Regions from separate parts of the Homo sapiens genome. Here all the other regions are linked to region 1. The links are contacts of gene promoters, found by promoter capture Hi-C in human tissues and cell types (Jung and others, 2019). All regions are on one chromosome and are shown on one strand. The core of a region is centred on a gene start or on the middle of the fragment in contact, and the rest is flanking DNA. Distances in the headings are between cores, read along the strand shown. Region 1 holds the start of RORB (RAR related orphan receptor B). Region 2 overlaps RORB (RAR related orphan receptor B). Region 3 overlaps RORB (RAR related orphan receptor B).

Region 1 (4,720 bases), core at 732-3,231:
GGTGGGAGAGGATCACTTTCAGTGGAAGGAGGAGACCAGTGATTGCATCCCAACTCTCCCAAGTGCTCCCTGCCTAGACCACCTCTCTCCGGGTCTGGGATGCAAGAAGGTCTGGAGCTGGCCGTTACTAACTTTCTGTTGTCAAGACCCAGGGGTACGTGCGAAGGATAGAGAAGAGCCCCCGATTAACCGCTGTGTGGCCAGGAAGAGGGACTGGGAGTGGGGGTGGGTGCCCAGAGCTTGCACAGATCCCCATGTCAAGCGGACACCCGCCTGGCTCTTCAGTAAAAGAGTGAAGAAAGGCCGAGCACAGCGCGAAGGAAACCTGAGGTCTCCGGCAAGGCAGGAGAGGAGACCAAGTGACTCCCCGAAACCCACCCTCCAGCCCTTCGAGAGGCCCAGAGTCCAGCCGGAGCAAGCGTAACGCTACAGTCCCTGGCGCGCATCCCTGCAGACCCCAGCTCGCCCCGGGGTCCCGCCGCCGCCGCCGCCACCGCCTGCGACTGCGAGGGTCCTGGCCCGAGGGTGCACCAGCACCTCCTTCCACTACCGGCCCTTTATCTGACAAAAGAGCCGGAGCCCATGACTCTCCGACTGTGAGCAGTGTGGCCTTTCCAAGCCTCCAGAACTTTCTCATTACAACTTTTCCGGGGTCGCACTACTCCCTGGGCCGCGCGGGCTCGGGCACGAGGACCTGGCCAGGGCGCAGCGCCGGCACGAAGGCGCGCGCCGCAGAACTGTTTCCTCAGCCGCGTGCCGGGGAACTAACTGTTTCCTCAGCCGCGTCCAGCCTCGCAGCACTGCTCTTCTGCTTGCTACTCCAGCGAAGGGACATGCCTGCTGGCCAGGACGCTTAGTGGGCCTCGTAACCTGGCGAGTGTGTGCCCGCGCGTGTCCACCCTGCCCCCGGCCGGTGCGCCCCGCGCGCCCAAACCCGGCCGGCGACCACTGCGCGCCGGGCGCTTCCAAACTGCTCCTGTCCAGAGGCATCCCTCTTTCGGCTTTCTCCATCCCGCGTCCGCTTCCGCACCCGAGAGCGACAAGCAAAAAAGATTCAGTGCAACTCAAGGACTGGTAAGAACCAACTAGCCTGTCTCCCCTCTCCAAAAAAGCGCCCTCCCGCGTCCCTCCAGAACTCCCGAAAGACATCAACACCTTCCCGCAACTTTCTACGCCCAGGCCATTTGCAGCCCCACCTGCGAGAGCGAATTCGGGGAACTGCGCCTGGGCAACCTCTTTCCCTTTCTGCTGGGTGCCCTCCCCTCCCCCATCTCCCCGTCTGGCTGGAGTTGGCCGGACTCGGGGAGCCTCGGTGCCCGCAGACTCGCTTACCTCGCATGGTGTGGCCGCTCTCCCGCTCCGCGTAGTCATGAAGCTGCTCCCAGCCCGAACCCCGGAGAGCCCAAAAATCCCGCTCAGCACGAGTGAAGAAGGTGGTCGGCGAAGAGCTGCTCTGCCGAGAAAACCATCCCTTTAGGCGGACGCCGTGGCTGCAGGGTGACGTTTGCCGCCGCCGCCGCTATGTTAACAGTTTTGATGTTGGTGGTGACTGTTTTGATGATTGTTTGTTTGTTTGTTTGTTTTCAGGAAGGGTGAAAAAAAAATGTTCTGGCTGTCTGGTGCCTGGGTTTTGTTTTGGTTTTGTTTTTCTTTTTCTTTCTCTCCAATGTGCTTGCTTTTTAAAAAATGCCACCGCCTCCGGCTCAGAAGATTTCTTTTGTGATCACTTGGACTGAGGAGGAGGAGGAAGGGCAGCAGCAGGAGGAGGAGTTGGTGGTGGTTTTGTTAGTTACAAAGAAGAGGGAGAAGGAACAAGGGGGAAAAAAGGAAACAGAAAGAAAAGAAAGAAAGGCGGTGTGGATGGCAGAGCATGTGCGTTTTCACATGACATCTGTGCCTGTTAGCGGATCCACAATGTGAATTTTCACTGTTCAGTTACAGGGAGGAAGGGAGCAGCGAGAGAGAAAGAGAGGGGAGAGATGGAGAGAGAGCGCTGAGAGGGGCTTATACGCGAGGGCGGGCTTGGCCGCGACTTCCAGGCCCCGCCTGCTGTCAGCGCAGCCGCCAATCAGAGCCCAGCAGCGCCTGGAGAGGCTGGGACCGCGGGGAGGGGACGTGGTGGAGGCGGGGGGTGGGGCGGGGGCTGGGGACCAGGGAGTCCGAGGTGGCCGGGGCTGCGACGGGGAATTCGAGACTGTCCGAACTGGGCAGAGAAGAAGGGCCGACCGGGAGAGTCGGGCAGATCCGCAGGTGACAGGCACTTCCGACTCCAGCAGAGAAGGGGACACTGATCACGGAAAACCTTCGGAGGCAAGAGACGCGGGGCTCCCCGGGTTTCACGTTCGGTCCCTGTCTCGCAACCCCCGCGGGCCCGGCAGAGTTAGTTTTGAATTTATGGCAGCGCTTTGCCGAGCGCTATTTGGGTAAACTTCGGTCTCCGGCGGGGGTTTCCGTGGGCAGGTGGTTTGGGTGTTGGTGGTAGAATAATGCAAACCCACTTTCATCACTTTTAGCACAACTAAAATGCAGTCCCATGGAAGTAGCTGTCCCCTTCCTTTAAAAACGTCCGTCAGATGCTCCCTGACCCTCTTCTAAAAAAAAAAAAAAAAGAAAGAAAGAAAGAAAAAAACGTGTATATGTTCTTTTGTCTGGGAAATTGATTTTTATTAGCATTTGGAGACTCCCCTGGCGATGGACTACAGGACTGAAGGAGAACAGCTCAAATTGGCGGTGTAGCCACCTTACTAATTCAAGAGAAATGGCTGTTGCTAGAAGGTGTGATTGCAGGGTGCTCTTTAGAAAGGTTTTAGAAGGAAGACATTGTTAACTTTAGTTAGAGGCGATTGGTAACTGAACATAGATAAACTTACTTGTATTCCTTAGGTGAAAATTGTCATCTATGACCATTTATTTGTATTTTGATAAAAATCTAATACATATATCCAAACTGTTCCTTTGCAAGTTTTTCCAACTCAGTTGACAAAATAAGCATATAGATGATTACATCTACTTCCTTCCCAATAGTAGGGAACTTCTTAAATACTTGAGTTAATTGAACACCCTAAAAGATTGGGAGGTGAAAATATTTGCCTCATTCACTCAGTCTTGAGGCTGGGAGATGTCTACTCATTAGCATACCTGTTGGCACAGCAGGCCTCATCATCATTTAAGTATCCAAATAATTTGATTTTTGACTGGTATTTATTCATGATATGTCATGTAACACAAAGTACAATGTAGAATTGGCAGTTATTTAGTTAATTAGGTCGCTCTACACTGCCAAGTAGTTTTTTCCTTCCTGATTAAATGAAAAATGAATTATCTGCTGAATTTTCACCAGTATTAAATTGACGTAGCCCTGCTATATGCCATCCCATTTGCAAACCAATGTGTAATTTAGGAAAATTTTAGTATTAAGAGTGAAAGTTGATTGAGTCATTAATTAAATGAAATGAACAAAAGGAAGTTACTGTTTAGAATAGTTATTCCTTTATAAATATCTTTCTCCTAGATTTGTAATTGACACAGTAGTTAATCTTTTAAGATAATATTTAAGGCTCCCTGGTTTTATCATTTTTAATCAAGTAAAATATATTCATCATAACTATGTTAAAGCTGTACAAAGTTATGCCTAATTTAGTTGCTTCATTAAAAATTACTGAATATAAAATAGTCAAGAAACAAATTGTGACTATATCATTTTAATTTTGTTGCTTCAAGCAGAGACACAAGAATATTGAAAATTCCAAAGGCTTTGTAAACATTGTCTAATTATTATTGTTGTTGTTATCATTTTAGATTTCTATTTCTCTTTAGAGTGAACAGGAATTTCAAAATCCAAAAATTTAAACATTTATGTAATTTTAACTTTCTAAACATTTATTGAATTCTGAATTTTTTTTTAATGCTGCAATATCTGTAATCCTTGAAAAAGGTAGTCAACACGTGTATAAAAAGTATTTACCCCCCCATACATTTTTATATTCTCTTTATTTTGTGGTTTCAGCAAGGCATAATTTTGCTTAGAACATATTTCTTAATTCCTTCTGAGTATTTTTGGAGAAATTATTAATTAGAAGACTATATTATTTCATTTTTCAAAACTATGTATATAATCTCTATATATGGTGATACAAAAGTATGTATTTTCTCTTTAAATGCTAATCATTGGTTATAATGTGGCGGCCTGGGACATTTTGGATCTTTCTAAAAATTTAAAAACTGGTTTGTTGAATATTTCTAATAATTTTCACATTTATTTCACTGAATGGAGCCCATTTATTTAAAATAAATATTAAGAATTTGAATGAAAGAAGTCAGTATTTTCTAAGAACTCACAAAGCACATATATATAATCTGATGGTTTTGTAACCTATCTGCCAGCAAATAATCATATTTCAAGTGGCATAATAATAATACATTACTGTAATGTCCTAGCTCATATGAAGTACGGTATCAGTAATTTTATTTGAATGATTATGTCTGGTTTCCTATAAGCTTGAAACTCTGCTTTTCACTCTGGGCCTGAAGGATTTTCTAAGTTGACAGTTGCATGTTGATTAATTTAAATGACAATCAGTCACATAGCACTGTCCTCAATCTCAAGAATTGACATCAGATTCCACTTAGGCTTGCCTGCTTACCTGTTTTTCTGACACATTAGCACCCCTCAGGTTGAGCTGTACCACAGAATAGGAATGACAACAAATATCCTGAAAGA
Region 2 (4,720 bases), core at 1,515-4,014, 88 kb before region 1:
GAGGAAATTGAGTCTCACTGAGAGTGAGAGACTTGCCTTAATTATTACGCTTGCCCCACTATCATGCTGGTGGAAAAGGATGCTTGTTTAAATTTAGTCTACTCTTCTCGCCACCATTTCCCTGCCTTATTAAATATTTTGAAAATTGTCTTCTAAATGCAGAGAAAACTTACTGTTTAAAAAAACTCCTATGAGCAATATAGAATTCTATAACCTAAGAGCCATGTGTGAAAGGGGAACAATAACCAAAATCTAGTGACAAATTATGCACATTTATATTTGAACGATTTTTCAGACAAAACTCATGCCAGTTTAGTCTGGTAGATTATTGCAGTAATGGCTCCCTATGTTGCACATTTCTCTGTGTCCACACTTTCCGGTAGTGCCTCCCACTCTGCCTTTAAAATTGGCCATGTGATTTACTTTGGCCAATGGGACAATAGCAATCCTGAGAGTAGCAGAGATTGACATGTGTGCACACATTGGGCCTTGCCATCACTTGTTGCTCTTTGGAATGCTAAGATCACATGTGAAAAAGCCCAGGCTAGCCTACTGGAGGATAAGTCATGCCAGCTGAGGCCCCCTTCCCTTGACCAACCATCCTCCCAACCCCAAACATGTGGGTAAGGCCATCCTGGATCATCCGTCCCTAGCTGAGTCCTCAGCTGACCTCAGAGATCAGCTAAACTGACTCAGACAAGAAGAACCACCCAGTTGACCCACAGACTCACAATTAATAATACATGTTTGTTTTTACAGGTTCCTAAGTTTTGGGGTAGTTTAAGAGACAGTAAGGCTATGACTGAAAAACATAGAGAACAATATATAAAATAGGCAAGAGGGAAATTCCAGGTTAATCTGTGGAGTCTGGCAATTCTTAAATAGTTCCCAAAATAAAAACCATCCAATGCCTCTTATCTTTAGAGGTGATAGAAGTTTGCATATAACAGTAACTTCTGATAAAGAATTTCGCATATTCCACTGGGAGACGGTTAGGAAAAGACAAAATATGAATCTTATCTGATGGGAGCAATAAAGCTCTGACCAATGGAAGCTCAAATCCTGAAACCGTTGATTCAGACCACCGTGGATTGACTAGGCTGGACCTCCTTAATTATTTGATCATTATTAATTCATAAGTATTTATATCATTCATAGTATTACTCTCAGTTTAGATGAAGTTGTTTAATTTGTTGATGGAGAAAGTTAAAATCCAAAGTTAAACAATCTGATCTGTAAGGCAGTACCAGCTAATGTCTGTACCAAGGGAGTGGACAGATTGGTTAGGAGCTCACTGGGTATCAGATATGACATAGTATGGAGCATGAGGTTAAAAAAACTGAACAATGCATCTACATTGACATGGACAGGAGAAGGCTACATTGTTAATTGTATGATTAAACTAAAGTTAAAAACTTTCTTCAATCTCATTGACCTCCTGAGTGATACTGGCACATGCTCTGGTAATCCCTGTTCTACTCTACATTCAAATACAGAGCAAAACACAAATAAAAACATGTGCCACATTTAGAGAAAATATTCCAACTTTGTCCATGTGGAGTAGCATAAGAAGTAGGAACAATGATTCCCAGAATAAAATAATCTGAAAATACACACACACACACACACACACACACACACACACACACGGACATTACATATGTACTCATTTGCATACGATTTTATTGTTTTCAAAACAACCATACAAATACAAATAAATAAAATATATTTCTCTCTTTTTTCTTTTCTTTTCAGACAGGTTCTCATTCTGTCACCCAGGCTGGAGTGCAGTGGTACCATCTAGGCTTACTGCAACCTCCATGTCCCAGGCTCAAATGATTCTCCTGCCTCAGCCTCCCAAGTTGTTGGGACTACAGGGATGTGCCACCATGCCTGGCTAATTTTTGTATATTTTGTAGAGATAGGGTTTTGCCATGTTGCCAAGGCCGGTCTTGAACTCCTGGACTCAAGTGATCCACCTGCTTTGGCCTCCCAAAGTGCTGGGTTTACAGGCATGAGCGACTGCACCTGGCCCAAAATACACTTCTCTACAATATATCTGTTAACTCTAGATTTTATATGCCATTAACATCTGTAGGTCATTAACACTTTGGTAAATTTATAAGTATCTTATGCTCTTTAAATATGTCCTGTGAGGCTGGGCGCAGTGGCTCATGCCTGTAATCCCAGCACTTTGGGAGGTCGAGGCGGGCGGATCACGAGGTCAGGAGATTGAGACCATCCTGGCTAACACGGTGAAACCCTGTCTCTACTAAAAACACAAAAAATTAGCCGGGCATGGTGGCACGCGCCTGTAGTCCCAGCTACTCGGGAGGCTGAGGCAGGAGAATGGCGTGAACCCGGGAGGCGGAGCTTGCAGTGAGCCGAGATCGCTCCACTGCACTCCAGTCTGGGCGACAGAGCGAGAATCCGTCTCAATAAATAAATAAATAAATAAATAAATATCCCCTGTGAAAAGAGTGCTGTGTAGATTTTTAAAAAATATCTAAATGCTCATGAGCTTACATAGGGTTAGAATTGAGTGGTAATATGCACAAACCATGTGAATAGCTTTTTATAGCGGAGAAAAAAGGGACTAGTTGACGGTATAGTACCAATGAGGCTGTTCTTCATAATCTAATGGTCAGGACAAGGCAAAAGGTAGACTATAGCTATCAGCTGCCTTCTGTCTAACACAGAATTCAGAAGGAGGAGAGGACTTTACCAAGATTACCAAAAGGCACTACATTTTCAGTTTGACAACTTCGGAATAATTTGTGACCTGGTTGAAAAATCTGATAGCAGACACCTGCTTACATTAAAAGAAAATAAAAGTGTGGGGTTTTATATAGAATATGTTACTCAACCTTTGGAGAACTCCATTTGCTTTTGTATTTTCATATATTTTTACTCTTTCAGTCCTTGATATATTTTGAGATTATGCTAGGGAGAGTAGTTCCCAAAATTTGGAATAAAAAGGCCTGCTTTGGAACAGGTAAGTTTTCAGACCCATCCTGAGTCGTACTTTTGGAAGCTGTTGATGGGGAGGATTAACAATTATAAAATGCTATCGATGCACTCAGTAAAACATCACATTTGAAAAATGGCTGCATTTATCTATTTGAGATAATAGTTATTTAGTCTGAAGGCAATACTTAGTGTGGGTATAGGTTGGGTGGCTCTGCCATTACCCTGAAGATCTCTGGCTGGACCACTGCATTAGGGCTGAGATTGGACGGGGGATGGGGACCCAGTCCACCTGAGCCCTGGGTGTATCATCACTTTCAACACATTCCATAGCATTTGTTTTTGCATCGTTGTTTTGTATCCAACAACACAACTTCCCATCCATTGATAGCCAGTCCTAGTGCCAGAAGCTTTCATTAGCATAACTGGCTATCCACTCTAAAGGCAGCTCCCAGACTCATTCTGTGGCTCCTGCCTCCCTTTTTCCTATAGCTCCATGAGTCTGAGGGTCTATGACAGTAGCCACTATCTCCATTACCAATGATGTATTTCCAATACCAACAAACAATGACTTCAAATAGAATAAACTAAAGTCTTGCTGGGTGTGTTCCATTAATGGCTTTCTGTCCTCTGTGATACTGGGCTGAAATGAAGATCAGTAGACTCTGGGCTCTGAGAACCAACAGATAACCTTTCTGATGCAATAAACGGCATGGTGAAAGTCCCAGACTGCTCTTTAGAACCAAGCATACCACACTTCCTGCAGAAATAATAAGAAACTAACATTTAAATGAGTACTGACTATAAGCTGAACATTGTAGTAAGTCCTGTTTTATCTATTATCTCATTTAATCTTCACAACAACCCTATAAGTAATTATGCTATCATAATACCCATTTTGCATAAGAAAACTGAGAGGCATAGAGAGGATAAATATTTTGCCCAAGGTTATGCAGCGAGTACAACTCCAGACAGACTGGCTCCCAAGGAACTCTCTACCACTCCATCATACTATCTATACATGCGCAGTAATGACATAGCGGTATTTAAAAAAGCTACAACAAAACCCACATAATTGGTAAGACCGCACAGGGAATAGCAATAAAATTCTGCATGACTTGCTGCACTGAGCCTACCAGTAATAGCCTATTTCATGATATTAATATTTTTTAATTCTCAGCTTCTCCAGCCAAAGTCTCAAGGTTAGAGAAAGTGTTTATGGCTGTCAAGACTGGCACACAGACAGATAGCACAAGCTAAGTCCTCTGAAATGTTATCTCACAGAAAAAGTTGCATTTTTGTACCCGTTCTACACAAAGACAACATTTGCATAAGCTTGAGCAACACCATCAAAGTGCTCAGTCTGTCTGCTAGTGAGCTTATTTTCTGGCTGGCAAATGCTGAATTCTGCTTTATAGAGGGAAGAGACATCTTTTACTAGTAGACGGCCCACCAGAACTAACACTGAGCATATTTGGATTCAGCTTTGAGAATCTCAAAAAAGTTGAGAGGGTTAGTGCTAAATAATATTTACTCCTTAGATGCTATACTTCAGCCATATGCCAATATCCTCACTACAGCCTGAGTTCTAAGGATGGATAGAGCTGGTTTGTGGTCTGAACTGTTCATCTTCTACAACTGACAGAACATCAACCTGGGGGTAACTTTTGGAAATCTGTTTGATTGAAAATGCTCCCTGGACAAAACAATCATTTGGCAAACAAATACCTGTAGAATTAGTAACCTAATTTGG
Region 3 (4,720 bases), core at 598-3,097, 70 kb before region 1:
GACTGAAATACATTCATATATGGTTATTTACACTATAATATATCAATGGTTTATATTTATCCTAGCAACAACCTGTTCAGCTAACAAAAACCTTAACATTGGTACATTCATACTAACGTTTCTAGCTAAACATATTATGTTTTCTTAGAAGAAGAGTTCTTCTAATAAGGGCTTTTTTGAGTGTATGATTTTTAATATTTGATAAAAGATGAAAGATTTTCATAACTTTAGAACTGTGACACTATAAATATCTTGAGGAAACTGCAAATATTTTAATATACATTTATACTTATAAATATGATTTTAGGTTTAGATTTTAAATGTTCATTTCACTCTAGGTGATAATGCTAGTTCAAACTATTGTAATATTTTTAAAGACAAACTTCCAGTTAATTTTCTTTTTTTCTTTTTTTTTTTTTTTGAGATGGAGTCTTTCTTTGTCGCCCAGGCTGGAGTGCAATGGCGCGACCTTGGCTCACTTCAACCTCTGCTTCCCGGGTTCAAGTGATTCTCCTGCCTCAGCCTCCCGAGTAGCTGGGATTATAGGTGCCCACCACCACACCTGGCTAATTTTTGTATTTTTAGTAGAGACGGGGTTTCACCATCTTGGCCAGGCTGGTCTTGAACTCCTGACCTCATTATCCACCCACCTCGGCCTCCCAAAGTGCTGGGATTACAGGCGTGAGCCACCGTGCCCGGCTCCGGTTTAATTTTCTTAAGAAAAGAATTGATTGCTGCTCTCACAGTCATATTTATTGTGCTAATTTTCATCATTTTAGGTGACCTCTCTCTATCCCTTATATAATGACCTAAAAAAATCACAATAATTTTTTTGAGTTTCTATTTTCAAAAAAAAAAATACATAAATAGATGCTCTAGGCCAATATGGAAGCAAAATACTTTTCACCTGAATCAAGCAGCTTTTGTGAGTGTTGTCCAGTACGGAATTTTATTTTATTTTGTCTTGTGTGTCAAAACTGTACCCACTTAACATGTGAAAGGTGTTATAAAAATTTGGAATATTGAGCTCTGTTTCGAATATTGACAGCAGGAAGAATTGGGAATGATGTGTTAGATTATTAACCAGGATAATTTGTCCATTTAAATTACAGATTTGCGGTTAATGAACACATATAAAGCCTCTTGAGTTGCTAAAACCCTGGGTTGTAAAAATAAAATGACACTAGGCTTGAAAGCTCTATGACAAGTCACCTGGCAGTTCTTGATGCTTCCTCTGGAATTCGTCAAAATGTGTTTTCTTTCATGGCACTTCCATTCCAAAGAAAGCACACATACATGCAATGCCTTCGAATGAAAGGAACCACTCGCTCAGAGAGAGGAATACTTCAGAGTTTTGAAAATGGGACTGCTGAGTCTTTATCTTTCATAAGTGGTACCATTTTCCTTACGAGTGGGAACAAAGTCTCAGAATGAGGGGAGACTGTGGTGCTGAATTAAATTCAATTTAATAGATCCTGTTAAAACTATGGTTTCTATTAAACCATAGGATCTATTACAACTATGGTTTCAGTGGAGACCCTCATTTCCCCCTACATTTATCATGTTCCTGTTTCTGAGAGCTGTGACATTGGGGAACTTGACTTTTCTGTCCTTGCCATTACCTACTCTGAATTCCTATCCCTTTCCCTATCTTGGTTATGTGAGCTCAGCAACCAAGAAGAAAATGTGAAGGTTCAATTCAATGTTGTCTTGTGTCAATCTCTGTTTCCTTCCTTTGGAATCCATCCAGCTTTCCTGGGACTAGAGAGGGTCCTCTCAAGTAGAGGGCATTCCGACCAGACGCGGTGGCTCACACCCATAATTCCAGCACTTTGGGAGGCCAAGGCGGGTGGATCACTTGAGAACAGGAGTTCAAGACCAGCCTGGGCAACATGGTGAAACCTCGTCTCTACTAAAAATACAAAAAATTAGCCGGGTGTGGTGGTGTGTGCGTGTATTTCCAGGTAGTCGGGAGGTTGAGACGGGAATCCCTTGAACCCGGGAGGCAGAGGTTGTAGTGAGCCGAGATCACGCCGTTGCACTCCAGCCTGGGCGACAGAGCGAGCCTCTGTCTCAGAAAAAAAAAAAGGGTGGGGTGGGCATTTGTTGCCCCAAATGAGGTAGGCAAGCAACAGCTTTTGGAAAACCAAAACCCACAGAAACTTCTGGGTTATTTTAGGTTCCTACATAGAAAGAAAAGTCACATAAACAAATGACAACGTCAGTATGGCTGAATAACTGAAATACTAATGACATCTCTGATTTATTTGGGGCTATCAGCCTTATATCTTACCCTGCTTCTTTATTTTATTTATTTATTTTTTTGAGATGGAATCTCGCCCTGTTTCCAGGTTGGAGCGCAGTGGCACCATCTCAGCTCACTGCAACCTCCACCTCCTGGATTCAAGTGATTCTTTTGCCTCACTCTTGCGAGTACCTGGGACTACAGGTGCATGCCACCACACCCAGCTAATTTTTGTGTTTTTAGTAGAGACGGGGTTTCACCATGTTGGCCAGGCTAGTCTCGAACTCCTGACCACAGGTGATCCACCCACCTCGGCTTCCCAAAGTCTTGGGATTACAGGTGTGAGCCACTGTGCCCGGCCGGAAGGGCTTATTTTATAAAAGATGAAGATTTGGAGAAGAAGATGTAAAGAACCACTGTGGAAACACAAAACTGTTGATAGTAGTAGAGACAGAATAATACAACTAATACAACTAACAAAATAATAGAAAATAACATAAATAATATGTTCTCAAAACATGAGAAGAAATGTATATGCATTATCTAGTATCTTCCCAACAACTCTATGAAGCAGAATGACTTTGAGATTCTAACTTAAAAAGTTTAGATTTCATAGAGCCAGAAAAAAATGAATTGCTGTAAAAGCTTTTGATGAAAGGCAATAATGGAGAGCATATTTGGGCTAATGGATTTCCCTGGTCTTGGATTTTATCATTTCCTCACTCTTCCTTTCATCGTTTGAGGTGACAGGGGTTGGTAAAGGACAGCAGAGGAAGGAAGCAGATTTACCATTGCCCTCAATAAGTAGCACATACATTGATGACTATGGTCTTTTTCACCCATATTAATACTTCATCAGTGCCTGAGAGCAATACTGAAATGTATGAAGTATTTTTACACAACCCATTGAATGAGGAATTTTAGGATTGGAGATCATCAGAACATCTTGTTCAAAGAGCACTTGTCATTAATCAGGGAAGTTTTAATTCGAATTAGGCAATTCTGATATTCATGTAAGAGACATGAAGGGGACTCTGACTTAAGTCTAAGTATAGATGATGAAAGTAGGAGATCTCACTCAACAGCATATCTGTAGGATAATCACATATAACCTGAAAAAGATTTATTTTGCCAACACACAAGCAGAAAAGCTTAAATAAAAATGTATGAAAAAGAAGATGCTTTTTAGGGAAAGGCATGGTCTAAGATATTAAGACAAGTTTTTACATTTCACTTTTTGAATAAATGTAAAGATAAATAATTTTCATCTTAACTTCACAATTGATAAATTTAACTACTTAGGGGTCACACGTCTACTTATCAAATTAAAAGTAAACAAAACCACTTTGATCTCTAAGGTACAGAATGCTTATGAAAATTTTGATGCTGATATTTGCCAGCAAAAATGAGAGCTGGCAATGAACAGTGACGAAACTCATCATTTATGTGATGTTACTCAACATATTGATTTTGAAGTGAATATGTCTCAAAGATTCATTGTTCTCCTACTCAAAGTTACTAGATGTTAAACCAAAGAAGAAACAGTTAGAAATCCACCTGTTGGTTCTCTCTAGCAATTCTCAAACAGTAATTTTATTTGTATAAATTTGTGAATAAGTGGAATTTTGCACAGGACCCTTTCTGCTGAGTGGTGTGTCTTTGCAAAGATTGGGTGTTTTTAGCTCAGAGTTATTCTGATATCTGGTATTCATGTCATTAGTTACTGAATACCAGATTCAAGTAACACATAATAGGAACCACCACTGACAGAGATGTAACAACACAATAGGAAATTTAAAGAGATGCTTGTTTTCTTTTTCTGTGTCTGACAAGTGCCCATTACAGTAAAGAGATCTTCTTTGTGATAGTTGCCACTGCTCAAAAATGCCAGTGAACCAATATTTACTCAACTCATGCTGAGAAGTTGTAAGCAGAAAGATGTTCTGAATGTTTGCTGCCAATCAGAAAGCCACACTTTATCAATGCCACCAACCCAAGCCTAAGCTTCTGGCCTCTTTACACCTTTTAAAAAAATACCAGAACTGAGAAATTGAGATCCCATTAAATCTCAACCTGTCAGTGCTTTCTCCTAGTCTTTCTTTTTAAAAATCTTCTTTTTCATTTCTAAGTTTTTTTGAATCCTAGTGAATGCTATATTTTTTAAAAAGGAGACTTAAATAAAAACCACGTTTACATTAACTCTACCTACCTTTCACCAGCTGCATATTTACTGACTATTCAAAGAACCATAGTCGGCTATACAAAGTAATGACTGCAGAAATGCAAATGGGGAAGAAAAACAGAGCAACCAAGAGATACAGCAGCCAAAACAAGTACAATGCTTTTCAGCAATCTACCCAAATGGGAGAAAATGGTGGGCTTGCGAGTTACAGTAATTTGCAGGTTACATAACTCACAAGGAAGTAGATGCAAGAAGGGAAAACTACACTAGAAAATGGTTTTCTTGGAAAACAA

Evidence for each region. Contacts are between HindIII fragments. The study calls those that stand out against the background at their distance.
Region 2: a fragment that was not itself captured here is called in contact with the fragment with the promoter of RORB in region 1 in 2 of the 25 tissues and cell types used here (hippocampus and thymus).
Region 3: a fragment that was not itself captured here is called in contact with the fragment with the promoter of RORB in region 1 in 3 of the 25 tissues and cell types used here (H1 embryonic stem cells, dorsolateral prefrontal cortex and hippocampus).

Annotation. Positions count from the first base shown.
Region 1 is chr9:74,494,596-74,499,315 of GRCh38, reverse strand. RORB (RAR related orphan receptor B) reads right to left here and starts at 1,981. Exons shown (of 10, transcript NM_006914.4): 1 at 1,333-1,981. The coding sequence starts at 1,339. RORB-AS1 (RORB antisense RNA 1) reads left to right here and starts at 763. Exons shown (of 5, transcript NR_125791.1): 1 at 763-1,074. RefSeq lists an enhancer at 1-79 and silencers at 1,749-2,043, 1,948-2,137, 2,133-2,345. The HindIII fragment of the contact is 7,823 bases long and covers 1-4,720 here.
Region 2 is chr9:74,583,530-74,588,249 of GRCh38, reverse strand. The region is part of intron 1 of RORB (RAR related orphan receptor B); the gene reads right to left. Among named protein-coding and RNA genes, the nearest start is that of RORB-AS1, 87 kb to the right of the region's middle. The HindIII fragment of the contact is 7,443 bases long and covers 1-4,720 here.
Region 3 is chr9:74,564,401-74,569,120 of GRCh38, reverse strand. All of the region lies in intron 1 of RORB (RAR related orphan receptor B), which reads right to left. Among named protein-coding and RNA genes, the nearest start is that of RORB-AS1, 68 kb to the right of the region's middle. The HindIII fragment of the contact is 3,953 bases long and covers 1-3,823 here.